Regions from separate parts of the Homo sapiens genome. Here all the other regions are linked to region 7. Evidence: promoter capture Hi-C in 16 types of primary human blood cells and fetal thymus (Javierre and others, 2016). All regions are on one chromosome and are shown on one strand. The core of a region is centred on a gene start or on the middle of the fragment in contact, and the rest is flanking DNA. Distances in the headings are between cores, read along the strand shown.

Region 1 (3,579 bases), core at 818-3,317, 190 kb before region 7:
GTCAGCTAAGCTATCCATGCAGTTAATGATGTTGCTGTTGTTGGAATAGAAGAAAAAAGTTATATCAGATGCTGCAATCATTTTGAAGTGCAAGAAGGGGTCCAAGGGACGAATATGCAATAGCAGCAATTATTTGAGGGTATCTGTGTTTTGTAAAGATGGTATGAATTGGCTCTTTTTCTGAAATGACATTTAATCTGGGGGAAGCTTATATTTTCCTATCTTTCTGTTTATATTAGAAGGTTTGAGACTGTCAGACTTCTGTGGAAGTGCTTTCTTTTTCTTTTCTTTCTTTTTGTTTTTTCTCTTTTTTTTTTGAGACAAGGTCTTGCTCTCTTGCCCAGGCTGGAATGCAGTGGTGCAATCACTGCTCACTGCAGCCTCAACCTCCCAGGCTCAAGTGAACCTCCCAGCTCAGCCTCTTGAGTAGCTGGGACCACAGGCGTGTACCACCACACTGGCGAATTAAAAAAAGATTTGTAGAGGGGCCAGACGTGATGGCTCACGCCTGTCATCCCAGCACTTGGCAGGCTGAAGCCAGCAGATCACTTGAGGTCAGGAGTTCCAGACCACCCTGGCCAACCTGGTGAAATCCCATCTCTACTAAAAATACAAAAAATTAGCCAGGCATGGTGGCGGGTGCCTGTAATTCCAGCTACTTCGGAGGCTGAGGGAGGAGAATCACTTGAACCAGGAGGTGGAGGTTGCAGTGAACTGAGATTGTGCCACTGCCCTCCGGCTTGGATGACAGAGTGAGACTTTTTTTTTGGTAAAGTAAGTTGCACAAGCTTGTCTCTAACTTCTGTGCTCAAGCGATCCTCCTGCTATGGCCTTCCAAAGTGTTGGGTTTACAGACGTGAGCCACCGTGCCTGGTCAAGTGCATTTTTCATTTAGATGTTTTTGGACAGGATTTCTCAAACTCCACAGCATTGACATTTTGGACCAGATAATTCTTTGTTGTGAAGAAATGTCCTGTGCATTGCAGGACATTTAGTAAGCATTTGTGGCCTCTACCTACTACATGCCAGTAGCAGCCTCCTCCCTTGCCAATTTTAACAAAAAATGATCTATTGAGAACCATTGTATTAGAGTAAGCAGATGGAAGAATAGGAGATTGCAGAGGTTGGTGATTCATGTGAGTCACTGAGTCAAATTGATGCTCAGTTAGCATGAATTCCATGACGTTCAGTGGAAGTTGGATGTGTTAGGGTAGTGATAAAGCTATAGGAGTTGGATGGATATGAGTATACTTGCTACAAAGAAGAAAGTAGAAGGAATATAAATAGATTTTTCTGTTCTATTTAAATAGAAGGTAAATAAAAGCATGTTTATAGAAGCAGGTAATGGAGATCTTAGATATCTGAATTAGGGATAAATAGATGTCCCAACACCTGGGGAAAGTTCATGTGGCAGTATATGCTTCAGAAGACTACAGCCATGTCTATATGAAGGGCAGATCTTGTATCTCTTCTCCTGCCCCAATGTGGGCATGCTGGCAGGGTACCAAAATCATCTCTTTCTTTTGTACTTGAACCATGTGACACTTCCTTGGGACAAAAAGGCACTTAGAGCATAAACCAAATACAATAGGGGTAGAGAACACTGAGAAGGTTATTAGTATTGTTGTTTTCAGAACAATCAGAGGTTCCAGTGGCTGGAGAATATAAATAGGATGGAACAGATAGAAACACTTAAATTTTTATATACTTATTCAGAATTATAAAATGTGTTATCAAATACTGAATATGAATATGAAGTTTCATCATGATTATGGGAAGAACTTCCCCAAAGGCTTACTCCCTGATTGATTGGACTTGAGAATTAAGCAGTAATGTGAGTAGGTCCTGGGCATAAGATCCAAAAGCATTCTTTACCCTGACCCCACAATAAGGGACTTGTAGTATGTGAGTGGATAGAGCTAGGTTTTCCCTGAGGAGTCCTTTTTGTTGTCAGCAATACCAGTCCTATAGGATCAGACCTTTGATAATTCTTCTAGAAATCCCCCAGAGCAGCTCTCATGTTATAAACTAGATATGTGATTCTTTCCTTCTTTTCTTTTTCTTGTCTTTTCCACACCCGTCTCCACCTTCCCTCCTTCTTTTAGAAGAGTATTGCCTTTCAAAATTGCATAATTTATTACTTTTATTCATTTCCCATGGACTGGAAAAGAGAACTCTAGTGTATTATATTATTAGTCTCAAAAAAGTACTATTAGCCTCTCATAAAATACTGATAGATTTTACAGTTGTGGTCAGTGTTTACTTTTGACCATCAGTTACCAGTAACTTCTTTCATGGTTCAATAAAATCATAGCTTTAGTTTATGGCACCTTTTCAAAACTTCCTTTGGCTTTTCTTTGTGCTTAATTTAGGTAGTTTTGCTTTTAGCTCACTTCCTAATTCTCTTTTTTACACAATTCATTTTGGTCCTAATTTCTTTACTTTACTATATAAACAAGGTGCTGAAATGTGTGTGTATGTATTTAACTTCCTCTACCCATTTGCTCTTGGTTATTTCTTCAGTTATGATATTCTGGATTTGCCAGTCATTGTCCGTCCTCCTGCCTCTATTACTGGCATAATGTCATTGGGTCTCACAGTTTCATTTCTTCATTCTAATTCTATTGCATGTTTCTATAATGTTTTCTGTAGTATTTTTACAGTTACAGATGCTTTTACACGTACTGTGTTGCTTAATTCGCCTAACAACCCTGTATAAGATGGCCAGAGTAGAGGATGTTAACATTTATAGGTGAGAGAGCTGAGAGATATAGAGATTTAGTTACTCAAGCCCTCATGGCCAGGAAGGAGCCAATCTGGGGTCATAATCAAAGTCTTTTTTTTTTTTTTTTTTTTTTTTAGTCTACCAATCTTTCTGTAAATAAAAGTTGTTTAATTTTAAAAATACCAAGGGAAGGTTTCAAAATAGATACTTTAAAGAGAGCCAGAGACCTCATTTTCCTCTTTTGCCTTTTCCATAGGGTCTAAAAACTGTACATTCAGTAAATACTACATTAAAGTCATGATTTCTTTTTCTTCTTGTTCATAATAATAGAGGACGAGCTAATGTGTAGTCTCTCATTGAAAGAACTCAATTAAAATGGGAAAGCAAATGAACTAATTGTCATAATAGTCATTCACACAGTTTTGGAAAGAAAATGTAGTAATTCAAATGTTGGGGCTCTTTTAGCCATATTGAGTTAATTTGGCAATAGAAACTGTGTTATTCATTTCTAAAATACTTTCATGGGATATTAATATTGATCTTCATTTGTAGTAAACTAAGAAGGTAAAGGTATTGGTAAAGGAATTTTTTTGTGTTTTGGCATGTGTTTTTCTGCTTCTGAAAGCTTTTGGGTTACCAATTAGATATTTACTTCTCAGAAAATATTTATTAGTATTTGGCTACTCATTGATTTGTTTATCAAATACTTGTAAAATTAGTGATCATGGGAGGATCCAAACATAAACCAAACATGATTGTGCCTTGAAGGCATTGTGGACCATACAAACAGTACTTAAGATGTATACTATTTTACTATATTACATAAATAATACGTACTCAAGGCTAAAGGAATC
Region 2 (3,408 bases), core at 772-3,271, 160 kb before region 7:
ACTGTAAAAAAAAATTCTTTTTTTAACCCATTAATATTTTCTGCTTTGTCTCTTAAAAGAAGAAAATAAATAATGAGAAAAACTTCTGACTGGAACAGTGGCATTTCTAAGGTGTTTCTCCAGGTTTCTGGGATAACTTTCACGTTGTCTTTATTCAAGTTACTTAAATGATCATAAGTGATTCTGTTATTCCTAGTTATCTTGAATCTCTCAAGTCCTCTGTGTCTTAATCAGGAAGTAAGAATTCTCATTTTAAACTTAGCCAGCATTGTTATTGATCAGCAGTGTGTTACAATAGAAATAGCATTTTTCTTGGTAAATAGAAATTGTGATTAGAGACATGCAGAGTAATATATAGTTATTAAAACATTCCTTGATTACTATTAATATTTTAGGAGTATTGTATTTCTTATACATTTGGTTGAATATTTACTTGCTATGTCCTCCATGTAATTCCAATATGACATTTCCTTTAATATTATAATATTTCTTATAATTACAATGAGATTTTTAAAAATGTTTTTGGTTTCTAATTTGTTTTTTTACTAGGCAAGTACTCAAACAGATGCCCTGAAACTGCCACCTTCCCAACCTCCAAGGCTTTTGAAGAACAAAGCTTTATTATGCAAACCCATCACACAGACTAAAGCCACCTCTTGCAAACCACATACCCAAAACAAAGAATGCCAGACAGGTATGTTCCTTGGTCTTTCTTTCTTTATTAATTTTTTAAGGGAAAGAAATGTAGGATCTACTTACATTGAGTACCTGCTATTTCCTAGGTGATGTGTTTGGTTGTTTGTATACATTGCCCAATTTAGTTCTCACAGCATCCCCGTGAGTTAGGTATTTTCCGCATCTGAGGCTTAACAAGTTGGGTCAAAGAGAAGGAAGTTAATCAGTGATACCATACTGTGAGCAAGTCATTTAATTCTCTTATTAATGACAATGTAATATTATAGAATAAGCATAAGGTTTGGAATTACATGGACAGGCTTCTAAGGAGGTGCTATTGTTTTCCAGTGTGACCTTAGGTTTGAACTACTCCACAGTCTCTTGGCTACTCCACACTGTTTCAAATGAAGTCAGTTCCTTTGAGGAGAGCTTCAGAGCTTTCTTTTTTTTTTTTTTTTTTTTTTTTTTTTTTATGAACTGCCTCTCCCCCTAGGCAGAATCTCTGAGCCACCTCTATGGATGCTGGGCAGGGTAGTAGTCTCTGGCCTTCTTGGCTTGCCTCCCCTGGCATGGAACTTCTGCCCTACAAGTGAGCTGGGGTGAGGGTGATCAGGATCCCAGTGTTCTTGGCCTGCTTTTCCTAGGGTAGAGCCTCCATCCAGTGGATGGAAACTGGGTGAAGGGAAGCCCCTGACCTCTTGCCCGTACTCACCAGGAATTTAGCCTCTTCAGCTTTCAGTTGGAGCGGATGAGAAATGCTTGTGGCCTCCCTTTCTTGATGAGATACAGTAACACTTGATTGGGAGCTGAGTGGAGAGAAGCCCATTTTTATTGGCCACAGCTACCCATAGTGGAGTTTCTGTCAAGCTGAGCTGAATTGAGCTGGGGGGATAAAGCCTGTGATGGCTGAAATGTCACAGACTTTCACTGTTCTTACCAAATTTGAACAGATTGTCTTGAATAAATGTTTCTTCATTTGGTATATGCCTTTAGGACAATTTCCCAAGAATTTAAATGGCTGTTTTTAAATAGTTTCACTTTCTTTGCTTGTTTCACTAAGGAATAGATCTTTGTAGCTCCTCATGCTGCCATCCAAAAGTCCTAGAATTTTGGCCGATTGCAGTGGCTCACACCTGTAATCCCAGCAGTTTGGGAGGCTGAGGCAGGAGGATCACTTGAGCCCAAGAGTTCAAGACCAGCACGGGCAACATAGCGAGACCATCTCTACTAAAAAATTTTTAAAAGTCCCAGAATTTTTAAACTAGAAGGAAATTCTTGATTTCTAGAGCTGCAAGGCTATCCTGTCAGCCATTGCTTCTCAAAGATTAATATGCACATGAATTATCCAGGAATTTTACTAAGTAGATTCTTATTCAGTGAGGCCTGAGATTTTGCATTTCTTATAAGCTCCCAGGTAAAGTCAGTGCTTCTGGTTCATGGACCACACCAAAATAGCAAGGCTCTAAATGATTTAGTTCTTTTTTTTTTTTTTTAATCAATAGCAGTTTATTTAGTATTATGTAGTTTGGTTATCAGATGTTTCTAAATCAAGTAACAATTTTTTAATGTCCGCTGTATTATGTAAAGTTTGTTGGCCAAATGTGGTGCCTCATGCCTATACTCCCAGCACTTTGGACAGCTGAGGCGGGAGGATCACTTGAGCCCAGGAGTTCAAGACCAGCCTGGGCAACATGGTGGGACCCCCATCTGTTAAAAAAAAAAATTTATGCCATATTATTTTCCCACTTCTAACTCTAGTCAAATTGTTAGCTCTTCTCTTTCTGTCCCTAGTATTACCTTTCTCCTAGATTAATGATTTTACACTTATCTAGCATATTCTCTGACACATAGAAAGGACTCTATATGCTCCTTGACTTATAATGTTGTACCCATCATATGTTAAAAAAATCATGAGTCAGAAATGCATTTAATATGCCCAACCTCCAGAACATCATCATAACTGGGCCTAGGCTATTTTAAACATGCCCAGAACATTTACATTAGCCTACAGTTGGGCAAAGTCATCTAACACAAAGTTTATTTTATAATAAAGTTTTGAATACCATGTAATTCATTCAGTGCTATACAGAAGTATGGTATATACTTGTTTTTGCACCATCATAAAGTTGGAAAATCCTGTATTGAACCATCGTTAAGTTGGGGACCGTCTGGTTAAATAATGGAATAAATCATCCATCTTGCTACTTTCTCCAAGTTTTTTTCCAAGTTCTGTTTCATCCTTTTAATACTTAGAACATCTGCTATATATATTTATTCTTTTTTGTAGGTATCATAACCTAGAGTAGTCTCCCATCATCTTAGCTCTACATATTATAATTGCCTCCTATTTTAACAGTTGATATATTTTTTATTCAGTGCTGAAATTGTTGCCAAATTAATCTTTTTTGATGTCATTTTCATCACTACTTTGTGTTAAAAAAATCTTCAGTAGCTACAAATGATTTTGAAATGTGCATTATAGCATGATGGAAATGGCCCCTCCCTATTCAGCCTCCTCTTTAGCAAGTGGTTTTCCATGCCTGTCTTCTAGGTTCCCTGTTTCAATCCTTTCAATTTATCCATCTAAATTATATCCTGCATTCATTTTCTCCTCACATCACTGATATTTGTTACCCACTTTTTGTCAGTGCTATACTCAAGATTTATTTTTTTGGCTACTTTAGTTATTTCTCCTTTGTAAGAAGTCCTGTAGTGTCATAGGTTACTCTTATT
Region 3 (3,708 bases), core at 793-3,292, 240 kb before region 7:
AGATGTGATTAGATGATCCAAAAATGGTGACAGGCAAGTGAAGATAGGACAAGAGCTAGGCCTGCATGTAGTTACAGTATGAACTATATTGAAAAAATTCAATTGGTGGCTCACGCCTGTAATCCCAGCACTTTGGGAGGCTGAGGCGGGCGGATCACCTGAGGTCAGGAGTTTGTGACCAGCCTGGCCAACATGGTGAAACCCTGTCTCTACTGAAAATACAAAAATTAGCTGGGCATGGTGGCAGGCGTCTCTAACCCCAGCTACTTGGGAGGCTGAGGCAGGAGAATCACTTGAATCTGGGAGGTGGAGGTTGCAGTGAGCCGAGATCATGCCATTGCACTCCAGCCTGGGGGACAAGAGCGAGACTTCATCTCAAAAAAAAAAAAAAAGTTAAAGTGCTTCAGCCAGGCGTGGTGGCTCACGCCTGTAATCCCAGCACTTTGGGAGGCCGAGGCAGGTGGATCGCCTGAGGTCTGGAGTTCGAGACCAGCTTGGCCAACATGGTGAAACCCTGTCTCTGCTAAAAACACAAAAAATTAGCCAGGTGTGAAGGCGGCACCTGTAATCCCAACTACTCAGGAGGCTGAGCCAAGAGAATCCCTTGAACCCGGGAGGTGGAGGCTGCAGTAAGCTGAGATTGCGCCATTGCCCTCCAGCCTGGGCAACAAGAGTGAAACTCTGTCTCAAAAAATAAATAAATAAATAGATAGATAGATAGATAGCTTTATCACGTAATTTAAATAAATTGTATAAAATGTAGTCAATTTGGCTAGCATTCAGGCTGAATCATTGAAGTTAGTTGTTGCACTGAAAGAAAACTAATTACAAGCCAACCGAAGGACTTCTTGTTGCCAGTAAAGGCTGGTTTGATCATTTCAGAATGGTCATAGATTGTTGATAAGTTTTCTGGTAAAGATGCTAGAACAGATCGGGATGCTGCTGTGAAATTTGTGCCCAGATTCCAGAGATTACTTAAGGCAGGTAATTGTGATCATCAGCTATTTAACATGTTGATGGGATAGGTCTTTTTTGGAATGCAGCCCATCATTAACTTATGCAATGAAAGACATAGGATCTTCAAGTGGCCATAAAGGGGAGTGTGTAGATATGTCACCTGAAGAATTCAGTGAAGACAAACTTACAAACATAAATGAGGAAAATGTTGTAACAAAGAGACGAATGTCATAGTGGAAGTAATACTGGTACAAATTTCACAGTAACACAACTCGTTGAGATACTCAAAAGATTCAAAGAGCAAAGGGTATAATTTTGGAAGCCAATTCAAATTTAGAAGGGATTATGGCAGTTTTTTTTTTTTTTTTTTTTTTGAGACAGAGTCTCACTCTATCACCCAGACTGGAGTACAGTTGCGCAACCTTGGCTCACTGCAACCTCTGCCTCCCGGGTTCAAGTGATTCTCCTGCCTCACCCTCCCGAGTAGCTGTGACTACAGGCACGTGCCACCATGCCTGGCAATTTTTGTATTTTTAGTAGAGACAGGGTTTCACCATGTTGGCCAGGCTAGTCTTGAACTCTTGACCTCAGGTGATCCACCCACCTTGGCCTCCCAAAATGCTGGGATTATAGGGGTGAGCCACTGTGCCCGGCTGACAGTTTGTTAAGGCATGGAAAAGTTGCTTATTCTGTATCACAAGTTACATAGGAAAAGACAAAGGCAGGCACTGTCTACTCCTGGTAGGGTTTTTTGTTTTTTTGTTTTTTAATTTGAGGCGAAGTCTCGCTCTGTCACCCAGGCTGGAGTACAGTGGCATAATCTCGGCTCACTGCAACCTCCGTCTCCCAGGTTCAAGTGATTCTTCTGCCTCAGCCTCCCAAATAGCTGGGATTACAGGCATGTGCCACCACACCTGGCTAATTTTTGTATTTTTAGTAGAGACAGGGTTTTACCATCTTGGCCTGGCTGGTCTTGAACTCCTGACCTCAAGTCATCCGCCTGCCTTGGCATACCAAAGTGCTGGGATTACAGGCATGTACCACTGTGCCCAGCCATACTCCTGGTAGATTTTTTACAAATAAATAAAACCCTTTGATTCTCACATTTTAAATTATAACGTAGTAAGCAAATATTAGTTATACAATATTTTTTCATTTCCCTACACATTTAAACTGACACAGTGTTTTTGTTTTTGTTTTTGAGACGGAGTTTCGCTCTTGTTGCCCAGGGTGGAGTGCAGTGGCATGATGTTGGCTCACCACAACCTCCGCCTCCCGGGTTCAAGTGATTCTCCTGCCTCGTGAGTAGCTGGGATTACAGGCATGGGCCATGATGGCCAGCTAATTTTGTATTTTCAGTAGAGACAGGGTTTCTCTATGTTGGTCAGGCTGGTCTCGAACTCCCGACCTCAGGTGATCAGCCCGCCTCGGCCTCCCAAAATGCTGGGATTACAGGTGTGAGCCACCGTGCCTGGCCAAACTGACAGAGTTTTTAACGTTTCAAGTGTTTTGACAAAAAAAGATCATGGAACAATTTTAATTTTTCTCTTTGATCATTAAGATTGCTTTGCATGGTTTCAGCTTGCATAGTCGTTTTTATATTTCTGCGTGGTAGCTGCCTGTATAAAAAATATAATATCGCTGGGTGTGGTGGCTCATGCTTGCATTCCCAGCACTTTGGGAGGCTGAGGTGGGAAGATCACGAGGCCAGGAGTTCAAGACCAGCCTGGGCAATATAGCAATACCCAGTCTCTACAGAAAATTTTAAAAAATTAGCTGGGCGTGGTTGTGCACACCTCTAGTTCCAGCTACTTGGGAGTTGAGGTGGGAGGATCCCTTGAGCTCAGGAGTTTGAGGCTGCAGTGAGCCATGATCATGTTACTGCATTCCAGCCTGGGCAACAGAGCAAGACCCGTCTCAAAAAAATTTTTCCAAAACAAATTTCTCACATTGAGAAACTTGAAAAAAATGATTGTAAAAATCATCAGGATTAATACATTTGAAAAACTAAGGGACATCCAAATCAGAGTAGCAACAGGGAAAGACTAACATTACTCATTGTGGCGGTTGAAGGAATAGGAATAGGATTGGACATTTGATTTGGAGTGGTCTGTTGAAAGTATACAAATTATTTGAAACTTCAGTGGAAACTTTGGGAGTTTTGGAAAATTTAAAGTACACTCTATGGTTAAGTTTTTTAAATAAACAAGTTTCAAACTGCTTATTAACTAATAGAAATGATTCTTTTATTTAGCAAAGACTGAGTTTTTGTTATATTTTACGCAGTGTTGTAGGTGCTAGGCTACTAAATACAGAACAAATAAAAATATCTTTGGGCTAGTGTGATACTGTGATATAATAGGAAATACATATTTGGTTTCTGCCCCAGGTTCCTGGCACACAGCTCCTAAAACTGTTGGAATCTCTGAAGTGATAAGTGTGGATTGTGTACTAATGAGTGACTTGGGCTTAGGGCCAGGCCTTTCCATAGCTTCAGCATGGGGCTGGTCACCAAAAATACCAAGACATGACTAGAGGGCTAAACATCGAGTTGAGCAGCAGTGCCAATGATTTACTCAATCATGGCTGCATAATGAAGCCTCCATAAAAACCCCAAAGGCAAGGTTCAGAAAACTTCCGGATTGCTGAACCACACAGAGGTGCTGGAAAGGTGGCATGCCCAGAGAAGACGTGGGAACTCCATGCCTCTCCCCAGCATGTATCATCCTATGCATCTCTTTCATCAGGTTG
Region 4 (3,419 bases), core at 370-2,869, 210 kb before region 7:
TTTCTCTACCATAATGCCAGTTGTACTGTGTGAACTACACATAGCAACATTTCTATAGATGTAGTGTTAGCAAACCTTTTTCCTAAAGGGCCAAATAGTAAATATTTAAGCTTTCTTGGCTGTGGTCAACAAATATGACTTTTTGCATTCTCCTTATTCTTCTTTTTACAACCTTTTAAAAATGTAAAATCATTCTTAGCTTAGAGCCATCCAGAAATAGGCCCTGGATAAAATTGTTTAATTAGGACTTCTTCTATATATATGTATTTATTTTGAGATGGAGTTTTGGCTCTTGTCACCCAGGCTGGAGTGCAATGGCACTGTCTTGGCTCACTGCATCCTCTACCTCCCGGGTTCAAGCAGTTCTCCTGCCTCAGCCTCCTGAGTAGCTGGGATTACAGGCGCACGCCACCACACCTGGCTAATTACTTGTATTTTTAGTAGAGACAGGGTTTCACCATGTTGGCCAAGCTGGTCTCGAACTCCTGACCTCAGGTGATCCACCGGCCTCGGCCTCCCAAAGTGCTGGGATTACAGGCGTGAGCCACCGCACCCAGCCTTCTATTTTTATTTTCAAAAAAATCTCCATTGACCATTTTTGCAGATAGTATGAGCTCTAGTAGAAGTGGTTTATTCTGTTAATGAACTTATGAGAGTAAAAAAATGAAGTTGTTATAAATTTACTGATGCCATTGAGGGAAAAAAAGTACAAGTTACTCTGTCTCTACAGTTATAAAGCCCTTAATAAAGGATTATTTTAACATTGCTTTCTTTTTTTTTTCCTGGATTATAAGGGGTAGCGTTAAAAATTAGGTTTAGGGCTTGAACAGATTCTTGTTTATCTGAATAGAAAGGGATATCAGCTAAATCTGCTGTGACAAGTGAAGAGAGAAGATGAAAATACAGATTTTTGTTTTATAAGTAACAGAACTATGTTACAGAAATTTTGGAATTAGAAGGAAGAATAGTAGGAATGCTTATGGGCCTAAAGATTGGGGTATAGTTGGGTCATTGGTACCGTCTCCCCATATCTCTGTGGTATTGTGCTTCTGCAATTATTGGCAAAAATGACTTTTGTATTTATTATTTTGCTTATTATGTTATTCTGCTTACAAAAGTAATATGCTCTTTGAAATACTGACATGTAATAAGATATGAAAATTTTACTCAGTAAGATGATAGTTTATTACAGTGATGTGCTTCAGTTTTAATAGACTTTTGACAGTTTTTAGGTAATTGCTGAATGTTTTATCAGTTTATATAGATACCTCTAATCTTCTTGATCATTGTTGCCAGAACACTAGAAATAACAGGGATCATTCTAAAAAGTAAAGTCTGTTGTACTTGTTCTCATATTGAAAAACAACAATTTGTTTTATAAAATGGTTTATACTGTACTTCAAAGTCATAATTTTTAAAGCCTTAGTGCGTAAGTTGACTATTAAAATTGGTAAAAATCAAACTCATTTCTATCAGAAATGTATCAAGTGTAAATATTTATCACCTTTTGGTAAGCTATAAAATCAGATTGATCTAAATATTCCACTGGTTTCAAACTTTAAAAAAATTTTTGAAACACTGTTAGAAATATATTTTACATTGAGACATATACATGTGTATTTCTGTGTGTACACAAACATTTCTTGTAGCATTACTTATTGTCATTCTATATGATACACTTCGCTTTCTGTTCTAGCCCATTAAAAAAATACTGGTTCCTTAATGTGCCCATCCCTGCAACTTGAAAGAAGACTAAATTATTACATTGTAGTTATTATCTCGTTCTCATGCAGAGTTTTCTTTTGGCTATTGCCATATTAATAACTATGATTCTTTTTCAGTTTAGGATCATACATAAGAATTAACCATTTTTCTATTGTAAATGTGCTCTGATAAGAATCACGGTCTGTCACTAAAGGAGAAAACTAGAGTGGCTGTTGAGGAGCATCTAGTAGTTTCAGACACAGCCACACAGTTCAGCATGCTTACCAAGATTTATTGTGTTTGTTCCCAAACTTTATTAATACTTGCCATTGTAATTATATAAGTTAACATGTACATTTTTTTACACTAGTGAAATGTTACTTTGAAAAGTAAACTGTTGTTTCTGTGAAAATTTGAGTGCTTTAGAAAAACTAAGCAAGTCAGTAAAAACATGGATGTGCAAGTGTCTTTACTTTCTCCCTCCATTTTAAAGAAACTCAGATTGCAATCATGAAGATGGCCTATATGGTTGTGATTTATTTATTTTTATTTCATTTTTTTTGAGATGGAGTCTCCCTCTGTCACCCGGGCTGGAGTTCAGTGGTGTGATCTTAGCTCACTGCAACCTCCACCTCCTGGGTTCAAGCGATTCTCGTGCCTCAGCTTCCTGAGTGGCTGGGATTACAGGCATGCACCTGGCAAATTTTTGTATTTTTAGTAGAGACGGGGTTTTGCCCTGTTGGCCAGGCTCATCTCGAACTCCTGACCTCAAGTGATCTGCCTGCTTCAGCCTCCCTAAGTGCTGGGATTACAGGCGTGAGCTATGGTGTCCGGCCTGTGGTTTAGTTAAGAAAGACATATTAGTATAGCCATTATCAAAATCTTGGCTGATATTAAATGATTGGTAAATGTGCTTTTGTATGTCTCAAGTAAAAATAAATGTTTAAGGCAATTGTGTTTCATTTTTAATGATTTTTGGCTTTGACTGTTGAATTACATTGTGATCTTATAAAGGGGTTTTTATTATTTAGGAAATTATATTTTATTGAATAGCAGATAGTCAGATCATCCCTTAGAAATGTTTATGTGACAGCGGCCGAGCGCGGTGGCTCATGCCTGTAATCCTAGCACTTTGGGAGGCTGAGGCAGGTGGGTCACTTAAGGTCAGGAGTTCGAAACCAGCCTGGCCAACATGGTGAAACCTCGTCTCTACTAAAAATACAAAAAAACCAGCCAGGCGTGGTGGTGGGCACCTGTAATCCCAGCTGCTTGGGAGGCTGAGGCAGGAGAATTGCTTGAACCCGGGCAGTGGAAGTTGCAGTGAGCTGAGATCATACCACTGCACTCCAGCCTGGGAGACAGAGCCAGACTCTGTCTTTAAAAAAAAAAAAAAAAAAGTTTCTGTGACTAAACAAAGTGCTAACTTAAGCTTTTATTTAAAGCAAATCACAATCACCTTGTTTTTGTTTTTCATTTTTTAATTTATATAATTTAATTTTTGTTTTTCATTTTTTATATATATATATTTTAAAGACAGAGTCTCTCTCTGTCACCCAGGCTGGGTTCAGTGGCGCAGTCATAACTCACTGCAGCCTTCAACTCCTAGGCTCAAGTGATCCTCCTGCCTCAGCCTCTTGAGTAGCTGGGACTACAGGTGTGTGCCACCATGCCTGGCTTGTTTTTTAATTTTATTTGTAGAGACGAGGTCTTGCTGT
Region 5 (3,320 bases), core at 698-3,197, 190 kb after region 7:
GGCTCTGAGTGTCATCTTCTAAACAGAACTGGAAGTCTCCTGCTCCTAGGAAAAGTGTCTTAGGCTCTGGGGAGGCGTTATACAGATCCTGGGAATCCTCTATGGGAAGTGAAGGCTCAGACAGTTTCCCTGAACTCTGGCACACAAACAAAAACAAACAATAACAAAACATTTTACAAATGTCAGTCATTGTCATGACAACCACAAAAGTTGCTATTTGCAATATTTAAGCTACTCTCAGGAAATTGTAGTTGAGGGGGACAATACACAGCCATGAGAAGCATAAAGAAAAATACCTCCAAGAAAGTAAGAATACTGGATGAAGCTTGTTTTTAATACACAAAGGGGGTGGATTTTTTAAACTGAACACACATAAGCTCAGTACCAACGTGGTGGGAGTTGGTTGGCTGGGACAAACTTTATTTAGCAATGTGGGAAGCAAAGAGAGGAGGAGATTAGAAAAACCATTACCATCTTACCTTAGAAGCTGAGCTGACCAAACTGGCTCGAAATAGCCCAGGGGAAGGAGATCTGAATCCTCCTGCTGTAGGGAAAAAACTGGTCCCACGGCCTGTTTGTCTGTTGCAAGGCTGATAGGATGGAATCGTGGAGCCAATCAGCTCAAAGCTGCTATTGTGGCTGCTCTCCTTTGTTAGCAATGAACATGAATCATCCTCATCTAAAGAAAGAGAAACACCTTTTAAGCACATGATTACAGAAATAAGGTGGATTTGTTTAGGAAAAAGAGTTGAGGATGAAACTGTCAGATAAAATTCATAGGCAAACCCCTCAAGTTATATGTTCCAAAACATTAAGTTAAAGGTAAATTACAGTACTAAGATAGCATTATATAATCAGGGCTTATTACTCTGAGCTAAGTGACACTTGAAAGTTCTTTTTTTTTTTTTTTTTTTTTTTTTGAGACAGTCTCGCTCTGTCACCCCAGCTGGAGTGTAGTGGCGTGAATTCGGCTCACTGCAACCTCCGCCTCCCAGGTTCAAGCGATTCTCCTGCCTCACCCTCCCAAGTAGCTGGGACTACAGGCGCGTGCCACCACACCTGGCTAATTTTTTATATTTTTAGTAGAGACAGGGTTTCACCATGTTAGCCAGGCTGGTCTCGATCTCCTGACCTCATGATCCGCCTGCCTCAGCCTCCCAAAGTGCTGGGATTACAGGCGTGAGTCACTGCGCCTGGCCGAAAGTTCTCTTCTTTCTCTTATCCTTCCTAATGCCTATGATCACACTCTTCATTGTCCAATCAATTATACGTCTTCCTTTGATCTACATACAGAAACATTTCATTGCTCACTCAATCAACACACATTCACTAAGGACATTATGTACCATGGTCTACTATAAATAAACTGCAAAAAATAGACCAAGAAAAATATTCTAATTCATAAACCCTTTTCATAGCTACATATGAAACTGGGAAGTGACCAGATTTAAAAACATGGAAACTTACCGTACTGCAGTCCTTAAATATCAAAGCTGAGGGACAAAAGAAATGTTAAGTTCTGCACAAGAATCACTACTTACCCAGTTTGCTAGGCTGCTTGCCTGAGTTTTCATCTGTTTCTGATTTTTCTTCAGTAGGAAAGTAACTGCAAAATAAGAAAGTAAATTGGTTCAGTATCTGTTCCTAGTTTTTACAGGAGGGGCAAATCCAAGGCAATTTTAAGTTTTCTTAGAGAGAATCACTTACCCCATCTTGGAAGAGCTGTCCTTAAACAGAAGTAAAGTAGAATCTGATGAGAGAGACTTGGGAACAGAGAGGAAGCCAACTGCCTTGCCAATTTCACTACTGCCATCATTATTTTCTTTATCCATTTCTTTTTCATCTTTTGTTTCTATTTCTTCACTACTAAGAAGGAATTCTGCAGTCTTTACCAATCAGGCCACCACAAAACAAAAAATACAAGTCAAAACATTTAAAAGCAAATACACTGGTAGCCTGAAATATGGCTGATTGGTTACAGATCACATCTTAAATTCAAAAAGGTAAACTTGAAGGAAGTTCCATATGACCATTATCAACATAATTTTCCCTGACACTTCTAGAACTTTTTTCTATTTTTTTTTTTTACCTTCTACCCTCCCGAAATTGCTAAGATTATAAAGGACGACTGGATTATCATTTTATTGAGGCAGTAAGAGGTTAATTAATCAGTCTAAGATTGCAGGCTGACTACTGATCTCAAACCAAGCACAGACTGAGACAGGCTGTATAGCTCAGCCATTGCTTTCTTTCTCCTTTACCCAAAATTAAATAATAACTCAAGTTGCTGGGCATGGTGGCTCATGCCTGTAATCCCAGCACTTTGGGAGGCCACAACGATGGGAGGATCACTTGAGGCCAGGAGTTCGAGACCAGTCTGGTCAACATAGTGAGACCCTCATCTCAAAAAAATTTAAATAAATAAATAAAATAAAATAAAATAAAGTGATCCCAGCATACAAAAAGGAAAGTTTTTTTTTTTTTTTCTTTTTTTGAGATGCAGTCTTGCTCTGTCGCTCAGGCTAGAGTATAGTGGCACAATCTTGGCTCACTGCAACCTTCACTGCCCAAGTTCAAGCAATTCTCCTGCCTGAGTAGCTGGGATTACAGGTGTGTGCCACCACACACAGCTAATTTTTGTATTTTTAGTAGAGATGGATTTTCACGATGTTGGCTAGGCTGTTCTCAAACTCCTGACCTCAGGTGATCCACCTACCTCAGCCTTCCAAAGTGCTAGGATTACAGGCATGAGCCACCCTGCCCGGCCCAAAAAGGAAAGTTTTTTAATACTTAACAATCGTATCATCACCTGTTTTCCCTAGGCAGAAAACAGTACTACGGAACAAGGGCAAGAGGCCCTTCTACAAATGCCTTCTTCTACAAAGAACGAAAATAACTCAGAAAGGCCTCTACCTCCCTAAGAATTTACTCCAGGCCTCAATCTAGCCAAGGTTAGGACTGCTTTTTAATCTGCTAGAGAAACCTAAATAAACAACAAAGATAAAATTTCCTACGAATACAAAGCCATTTTTAATATTAGCATTATTATATTAAAATATATAAACAGGTGGAAGCCCAGGCAATGGTATTCTGTCAGTACCACTGAATATCTGTATTCAGATATATAATGATGATCTACAGATATTCAGTGGTACTGACAGAACTGAAGTTCCTAAGATTTAGGGATATATGAGGTAGTTACCCTCATCATGCCCCTAAAACCTCTTATACAATTGAACATGCTTATTATACTCTTTTTCAAGTCTGACTTTTTCTCTCATATTCACCATGACAAGGTAACAAAACAACGTAATTGCCAG
Region 6 (3,597 bases), core at 917-3,416, 140 kb before region 7:
TTTAGGGCAGTACACAGTTTTGCAACTTACATTATAGCTTTGTATTAAGTTTTGAAATCAGGAAATGTGGTTCCTCAAAATTCTTTGGGCTCTTCAAGGTCCTTTGAAATTCTATGTCAATTTTAGAATGGGTTTTTCCATTTCTGCAGAAAAAGGTCATTGGATTTTGATATGATTGCAGTGAATCTATAAATTGATTTGGAGAATATTGCCATTTTAACATCATTAAATCTTCTGATCTGTGACTACAGGATGTCTTTCTGTTTATTTAGTTGTTCTTTAATTTTTGCTTTCAGCAGTTTTTTGTGGTTTTAAGTGTGTAAGTCTTACAACATTTTGGTTACATTTCTTCTCAAGTATTTTATTCTTTTTGATGCTTTGGTAAACATGGGACTTTTGTTTGTTTGTTTGTTTTTTTGAGACGGAGTCTCACTCTGTCGCCCAGGCTGGAGTGCAGTGGCACAATCTCAGCTCACTGCAAGCTCCGCCTCCTGGGTTCAACGCCATTCTCCTGCCTCAGCCTCCGAAGTAGCTGGGACTACAGGCGCCCGCCACCGCGCCCAGCTAATTTTTTTTTTTTTTGTATTTTTAGTAGAGACAGGGTTTCACCGTGGTCTCGATCTCCTGACCTTGTGATCCGCCCGCCTTAGCCTCCCAAAGTGCTGGGATTACAGGCATGAGCCACCGCACCTGGCGGGACTTTCTTAATTTCCTGTTTGGATTGTTCATTGCTAGCTTGAAATACAGCTGATTTTTGTGTATTGCTTATATGCTGCAACTTGGCTGGATTCACTTATTAGCTCTAATAATTCATTTTTCTGTGTATTCTCTAAGATTTTCTATATATAGGATTCTGTCACCTGCAACTAGAGATAATTTTACTTCTTCCTTTCCTATTTGAATGCGTTATATTTATTTTTCTTGCCTGGCTGCTCTGCTAGGATTCGCGGTACAGTGTTGACGAAGAATGGCAAGGATAGGCATTCTTGTCTTGTTCCTGGTTAAGGGGGAAGAGACTTTTTTTAAACATGTATGTTGCGTTATATGTACTGATATATTTCTGTAACTGTACAAAACTCACTTCTGCATAATGGAATTTCTTAAAGATTGGAAATATTTTTGCATATGAATAGTAGTTGACTTTGTGTGATGAGTTTGAATGAGTTTGAATAGTCTACTTTTTCTTTATTTTGAACTTTTTCAATAACGAAGATATATTTTTAAGCTTGAAAGTGACTATATTAAAAGAAGAAAAAGAGGAATACTGTTGAACAACAAACTGTAATCTGCCAATAAGTTCATAAATTGCCTTTGAGGAGGCCTCATAAAAATGCCTATTGAAGTGGTAATTTTTGTTAGCCAGAATAAATTTAAATGGAAATAATTTTCTCCAAATCATACATAGAAATGCAAGAAACCAAGATAGCCACAGAAATATAAATTAAAAATACTAAACCTTAAAAACACCAAAATACTTTTATCACGTAATTACATGCTGCCTTGGATTCCGTTACTACTCATGGTGTGTCCCTGTCTCAATTGATTTTATCTGACCTGCGCCGTCAGTACTTTTTAAAAGAGACAGGGTCTTGCTCTGTTACCCAGGCTGAAGTGCAGTGATATGATCATAGCTTGCTGCAGTCTCAAACTCCCAGGTTCAAACAACCCTCCTGCCTCAGACTCCCAAGCAGTTAGGACTACAGGCATGCACCACCACCCCTGGCTATTTGTTTTTAAATTTTTTGTAGAGATGGGTCTCACTGTGTTGCCCAGGTTAGTCTTGCACTATTGACCTCAAGTGATCCTCTCACCTTGGCCTCCCAAAGCACTGGGATTACCATTCCTGGCTCAATACATTTTTAAACTATAGGTATTCTTTTTGTTCTAGCCTATGATATGGTTGTTAATGGTTATAATTAACATAGTTCAATGTCCTATAATTAGACTTGAACTTTTTTGAGGGCTAGGTTGTGGGGCAGAGTTGAGAGCTGTAGTTAGAAGGCTCCAAATAAATAGTTTTTAAATTTGGGTTTCCTCAGGTCAACTGACATTAGCTAACTGTGTGATTGCAAGAAATGATCTTGTATCTAGGGTAAAAAACAAAAGAGCACATCTGCAGATACACATTATGAATCAGGAAAAACATGATTTGGAACGTGTGCATTGGAACCAAGTTTTAGTATGTCAGTTTTAGGAACTAAGTAAAGGGTTCTTCATAATACTTCTTCTGTACCATCCGTGTTTGAAAACGAAGTACAAAAACTTTACCTTGCAAGGTCAGTGCTGAAGATAATGTGTTAATAAGAACAGGAGCTTTAGCTTGAATTCTAGTGTTTTAACAACTATCTCTAAGGTACTGAGAGGTTAAACATGGTTTATAATATTGTAAGGGCAAAAATTAAGGGTAAACTGTATTTCTTACAATAATTTTTTAAGAACTCATGTTTTCTTTTTATCAACATGTATATTTTCTTTTTTTTTTCTTGTAGTACCTGTTTGAAAATGGTAGAATAGATAACATTTTTACTGAGCCCTATTCCAGATTTATGATTGAACTTACCAAACTCTTGAAAATATGGGAACCTACAATACTTCCTAATGGTAGGGTGATTTTTTTTTTATTGTTTTCATGATATGCTTTCTTAAATTGCTTAACTTTTTTGGTTATCTTTAAAAAAATTGTTCATTTTTATTTCTGTCCAGATTTATACCATATTTGGACTTCTGAGGAGACGGTCTTTGGTTTATTGTTGATTGTTTTAGGAAAACTGTACAAGTCATATAGCACATGTATAGATACTGATTGCAGAAAATATAAACTAATTTGAAGTTACATTTACCTTTTTAGAAACCATTTTTGATCTGGTAGCATTGGTGTAGCTTTCACATATCATATCTGCTAACAGTGGACCTTTTTTGGTAGTTTGTATGTATACTGAACTGTTGTTAAGAGAGTTAAGTCCTCGTCCTTGAATTATCTTTGACCAGATGTCATCAGACAAGTCCATAATTCACTCCAGGTCTCAGGCTGAGGTGAATGAAGAGGTTCAATGTTATGCTTAGTAATATATGCACCTTTCTGTTGGGCTGCAGAGCACCTTTAACAGTAAGCTTAATGATCTCCAACAGGAGTTTGCAAACTATGGTCCATGGGCCAAATCTGGCCTGCTCCCTGTTTTGCAATCTATGAGCTAAAAATTGTTTTTACATTTTTAAATAGTTGGGGAAATTTTTTTAAGAATTCCTATTTCATCATGTGAAAATTATATTAAATTCATGGCTGGGTGTGGTGGCTCACACCTGTGGTCCCAGGTGTGACTTTGGAAGGCTGAGGCAGGAGGATCACTTGAGCCCAGGAGTTCAAGATCAGCCTGGGCAACAAGGTGAAACTCTGTCTCTACAAAAAATAAAAAAAATTAGCTGGGCATGGTGGTGGTGCCTTGTAGTCCCAGCTACTCAGGAGGATGAGGTGGGAGAAGCACCTGAGCCCAGGAGTTTGAGGCTGCAGTGAGCCCTGATCGTGCCACTGCACTCCAGCCTGGGTGACAGAGTAAGACCCTGTCTCAAAAAAAAGAAAAGAAAATTATATGACTATAA
Region 7 (3,588 bases), core at 334-2,833:
GGGTGGGAGAAGCAGAAAAGAAATGAATAGCTTTTGAAAAATGGAGTAATAAACACCACTGGACTAACAAGCTGATTAGAAGTGCCATGTCTAATAAATCTTGCGTCTAAGAGAAAGGCAGAGTTAATTTCATTTGAACTCCTAACCAGTCATTCCTCTGAAACCTATAATTGCCTAAGGGCACAAATCACTGCTAGGGTCCAGTTAAAGGCTTGCTGACCAAACGCAAGAACAACAACACATCACCAAGATCCGAATAGTTTGTTACTGAATCAAAGGGTAACAACCCAGGGAGAGAACACACACCCCCACAATACTTGACAAATGAAAATCTAGAGAAGCTCACAATAGTTCTGGCATTTAGGGCGTTACAAGTACACCCAAAATAAAAGCACTCTCTGTTGCAGCAGCTGTTCAGACAGAGCAGGGGGTAATGTTTACTTAATACTTCAGGTTGATGGGGGATGTATCACAGTTCAGTCTGTCAACTACATACGTGGAACTCCATTTATGTACACAGCGATAAGATATGTTTGAACAACGATGGAGCACGTCTGAAACAATCTATTCAGTTGGTATGAGTAATCGAGAATAAAGCTCTTTTTTAAAAAGTCTCAGATATTTGGGAAAGTTACAGAACAGACTGCCATGAATAGCTTTGCTTATATTTGCAGACACTGTTTTCCAAATAGCTGGAAAAATGAACAGATTGTTCTGGGAGGTCGTCTTTCCAATTTGTTCCTAGTTTTCAGTCTGTTAATCACAGGAGAGAGCACAAGGAGAGTCAGCTAATGCTCTTCACTAACTGCAACTACTGTCAGTTGGACACAACCACTATGAGACCAGAAGCCAAAGAGTTCCTGGAATCCCGCCAGAGGTTATCAATTTTGACTTCCTTCATTTCACCTTTGTGCTCACTGCAGCCACTACAGGACCCTCTGTGGGGCATAATTTTCAAAATCGTGGATGAGGCAGGTTTCACATTATAATGGACACATCGTGCTCAACCCCATCCCCTCTTCATTCTGCACCAACTTTCTATCTCGGTGGAGAGACCAAACATCAGAGACAGCAACTAAAGACTAGGCTGCAGAGGTCGAAGGTGGAAGAAGGACGGCAGCGCCCCGAACCCCGGCTGTCTGCCTGGCTCTCAGGGGATGGAGGGAGCTGCATGACTAGGCCCAGGCCCGAGAGAAGCGGGGTTCAGCCTGGGACCCAAGCTGCGCACCTGCAAGGACAGAAGCAGCTGGCTGCCCTGGCCGAGCCAGGGGCGCCACCTCCGGACCCAACATCCGGCCAGCGCAGCCGCTGACATCGCCCGTCCCGCTTGCCCCTCCCCTGAGCCCATGGTCCTCGGCCTGGCAGCCAGCCGCCCCCGGCCACCTACCGGGGCTCAGGGCCACATAGCGGGGCCCCGGCTCTCGGCGGCCTCCGCCTCCTCCTGGTCCATGGGCTCGGGGACCCCCAACCTTCGCTCCCCTCACCCGGAGGAGGAGGAGGAAGAGGAAGAAGGTAGTGCGGGCTCCCCACCCGGACAGCTACCTCTCGCCTCAGCCTCCCTGGACAGCGACGGCGGCCGGAAACACCGCCTCCTCCCACCTCCCCGGGACCGACCCGGAAACACACTCTCCATGCTAACCAAGCCCTCCCGCCCCTCCCCCGGGAAGGGCAATGCCGGCCGCGAGACCAAGGGGGAGGAGGGGCAGTGCTGGGCGGGTAAAACTACGCACAAGCGAAGGAATCTGGGCCCCCAGCCTCTCGCCGCCCGCTCTCCAGAGGCAGTCTGCACCTTGCCTCCTTCGCTCGAGCCCCAGCCCCCAGACTCGGGCAATACCCACAAGCAAGATGGCGGCAACGGCGGCACCCCCTACTGCTTAGCACCCTGACTTGCCATTGGCCAGAGCCCGGAGTGAAGCAGCCGCGGATTCGTCAAGAGCGGTGCGGGGGTGGGGGTGGAGCTGCAGCAGCCTGGAGCCAGGAGTGGGCAACGCGGCGTGAGCAGCGGCCCGAGGCTCCCGGAGCATCGCGCTGGGAGAAGACTTCGCCGCTCGGGGCCGCAGCCTGGTGAGCTCAGCCCCCTTCGGGCCCTCCCCTGCATCCCAGCCGGGGCCTCTCCGAGCCGGCGCTGATCGATGCCGACACACCCCGGGGACCCTATCGCGACTCCATCGCGCCATATCGCGACACCATCGTGCCCTGTCGAGACTCCATTTTGTCACAGCCCTTTTCAATATATATCTTTTTTTTTTTTAATTTGCCCTGTCATCTTTGGGGGCTGTCTCCCATGTCGTGATTTTGACGTGATCTCTCCGTGACATCACCGCGCCATCGTGAAGTGTGATCTCATCGCCGCCCTGTCGTGACTTCATCAATGTCGTGTTGTGACCTGGCTGCGGCGGGACAGGTGGTGACCGCCAGGAACCCTCCTCCCCTTCTCATCTCCCCATCTCAGCAGCCCTGCTTCGATTATCCGGCTTTTGGATTCTCCGTTGTCCTGGGAACTATCCGGGACCCCCTCTTGCTTCTCCAGCCCCTGCCGGCATCCACAGGCTGGTAGCGGGACGGGGAGGGCGAGAAGAGGGAGCGCAAGGGGTTAATTCTGCTGCTGCCGCCGCCGCTGCTGCTGCTGCTGCAGCCTCTACCCGAGGGAGGGAAAGGAGAGGAGGCAAGGAGCCTGCGGGGGCGACTGAGAGCCCTGGCTGGAGGGGTGGGGTCCCCAAAGGGGCCTCCAAGCCTTCCCTGTTGAGCGTCTTGTATTCTCACTTCTGAAGCGTATCTCTGCCTCTGAAGAAGGGAGGGGAAAGGAAGCCTGGGGTGTCCTTTTCTCCCATGTCAGCCTGAGTCCGGATAATCGAACTTCACCCATGTATGTCTCCATTTCTCCCTGTCTGTCCTCACCACTCACTCCCTCTGTGTCCCTGTGGAGGGAGATAAAACCCAGCCTCCGGTGCCAGGGGGACAGCTGAGCAGTGGGGCCAGCTCCCGCCCACCCCCAGGAGACTGGTGAGGAGAGCTGTCCGGCTGAGCAGCAGCATGCATGGTCCTTCTTTCCCGCTTTCTGGAGGTGACCTTGGACCAGGGTCCCTTCTTTATCCCTAAGGATTTGCAGATCCAGCCCCTTAAAGGGGCTTCTGGGGGGAGGTCAGTCCTGAGGAGTCCACCCCTCCAGATTCTCTCCTCCCCTCCCTCTGTGCTAATCCCTCCCTCCCTCCATCCTCCACTCTCACCCCCACCCCACCCCCGTCCCTCCTCTGCAGAGGGATGCTCAGTCCCTCTTGTGTTCACAGTTGGGCAAGGCGAGCATCATGGCCTCGGATTGCGAGCCAGCTCTGAACCAGGCAGAGGGCCGAAACCCCACCCTGGAGCGCTACCTGGGAGCCCTCCGTGAGGCCAAGAATGACAGCGAGCAGTTTGCAGCCCTGCTGCTAGTAAGGAACTGGCTGAAAATTGGGAGGTGGGAAGGGCTGGGTGGTTGGGCCCCCAAGGAATGGGGTCAGTGAGTCCCCAAGGATATGTACGTAGTGCTAGCAACCCTGGAGGCACCAACGAAGGCCCAAGACCCCTACCTTTGTGCTCTTTTTTGCTCCC

The links. The method cuts DNA at HindIII sites, captures the fragments that hold promoters and counts their contacts. A CHiCAGO score of 5 or more calls a contact.
Region 1: a contact is called between a fragment that was not itself captured here and the fragment with the promoter of KIAA0319L in region 7, in 1 of 17 cell types (monocytes). The highest score is 5.6, in monocytes.
Region 2: a contact is called between a fragment that was not itself captured here and the fragment with the promoter of KIAA0319L in region 7, in 1 of 17 cell types (M1 macrophages). The highest score is 7.5, in M1 macrophages.
Region 3: a fragment that was not itself captured here is called in contact with the fragment with the promoter of KIAA0319L in region 7 in 1 of 17 cell types (M1 macrophages); the score reaches 5.9 in M1 macrophages.
Region 4: a contact is called between a fragment that was not itself captured here and the fragment with the promoter of KIAA0319L in region 7, in 1 of 17 cell types (M1 macrophages). The highest score is 7.0, in M1 macrophages.
Region 5: a contact is called between a fragment that was not itself captured here and the fragment with the promoter of KIAA0319L in region 7, in 1 of 17 cell types (M0 macrophages). The highest score is 5.5, in M0 macrophages.
Region 6: a contact is called between a fragment that was not itself captured here and the fragment with the promoter of KIAA0319L in region 7, in 3 of 17 cell types (M1 macrophages, erythroblasts and M0 macrophages). The highest score is 6.6, in M1 macrophages.

What each region holds. Positions count from the first base shown.
Region 1 is chr1:35,362,404-35,365,982 of GRCh38, forward strand. All of the region lies in intron 5 of ZMYM4 (zinc finger MYM-type containing 4), which reads left to right. ZMYM4-AS1 (ZMYM4 antisense RNA 1) reads right to left here. Exons shown (of 2, transcript NR_046659.1): 1 at 3,563-3,579. Among named protein-coding and RNA genes, the nearest start is that of ZMYM4-AS1, 1.9 kb to the right of the region's middle. The HindIII fragment of the contact is 2,562 bases long and covers 787-3,348 here.
Region 2 is chr1:35,393,046-35,396,453 of GRCh38, forward strand. ZMYM4 (zinc finger MYM-type containing 4) reads left to right here. Exons shown (of 30, transcript NM_005095.3): 18 at 550-694. Among named protein-coding and RNA genes, the nearest start is that of ZMYM4-AS1, 29 kb to the left of the region's middle. The HindIII fragment of the contact is 2,814 bases long and covers 615-3,408 here.
Region 3 is chr1:35,316,746-35,320,453 of GRCh38, forward strand. The region is part of intron 1 of ZMYM4 (zinc finger MYM-type containing 4); the gene reads left to right. Among named protein-coding and RNA genes, the nearest start is that of ZMYM4-AS1, 47 kb to the right of the region's middle. The HindIII fragment of the contact is 5,150 bases long and covers 1-3,708 here.
Region 4 is chr1:35,346,748-35,350,166 of GRCh38, forward strand. All of the region lies in intron 2 of ZMYM4 (zinc finger MYM-type containing 4), which reads left to right. Among named protein-coding and RNA genes, the nearest start is that of ZMYM4-AS1, 18 kb to the right of the region's middle. The HindIII fragment of the contact is 3,023 bases long and covers 109-3,131 here.
Region 5 is chr1:35,747,926-35,751,245 of GRCh38, forward strand. CLSPN (claspin) reads right to left here. Exons shown (of 25, transcript NM_022111.4): 11 at 1,708-1,886; 12 at 1,542-1,606; 13 at 480-679; 14 at 1-136. Among named protein-coding and RNA genes, the nearest start is that of CLSPN-AS1, 10 kb to the left of the region's middle. The HindIII fragment of the contact is 3,248 bases long and covers 324-3,320 here.
Region 6 is chr1:35,411,483-35,415,079 of GRCh38, forward strand. ZMYM4 (zinc finger MYM-type containing 4) reads left to right here. Exons shown (of 30, transcript NM_005095.3): 27 at 2,490-2,601. Among named protein-coding and RNA genes, the nearest start is that of ZMYM4-AS1, 47 kb to the left of the region's middle. The HindIII fragment of the contact is 1,886 bases long and covers 1,224-3,109 here.
Region 7 is chr1:35,555,820-35,559,407 of GRCh38, forward strand. It overlaps KIAA0319L (KIAA0319 like), which reads right to left and starts at 1,584. Exons shown (of 21, transcript NM_024874.5): 1 at 1,388-1,584. NCDN (neurochondrin) reads left to right here and starts at 1,980. Exons shown (of 7, transcript NM_014284.3): 1 at 1,980-2,404; 2 at 3,288-3,428. The coding sequence starts at 2,372. RefSeq lists enhancers at 1-213, 1,014-1,741, 1,742-2,468, 1,758-1,817, 3,196-3,588 and silencers at 1,278-1,377, 1,388-1,527, 2,599-2,808. The HindIII fragment of the contact is 13,260 bases long and covers 1-3,588 here.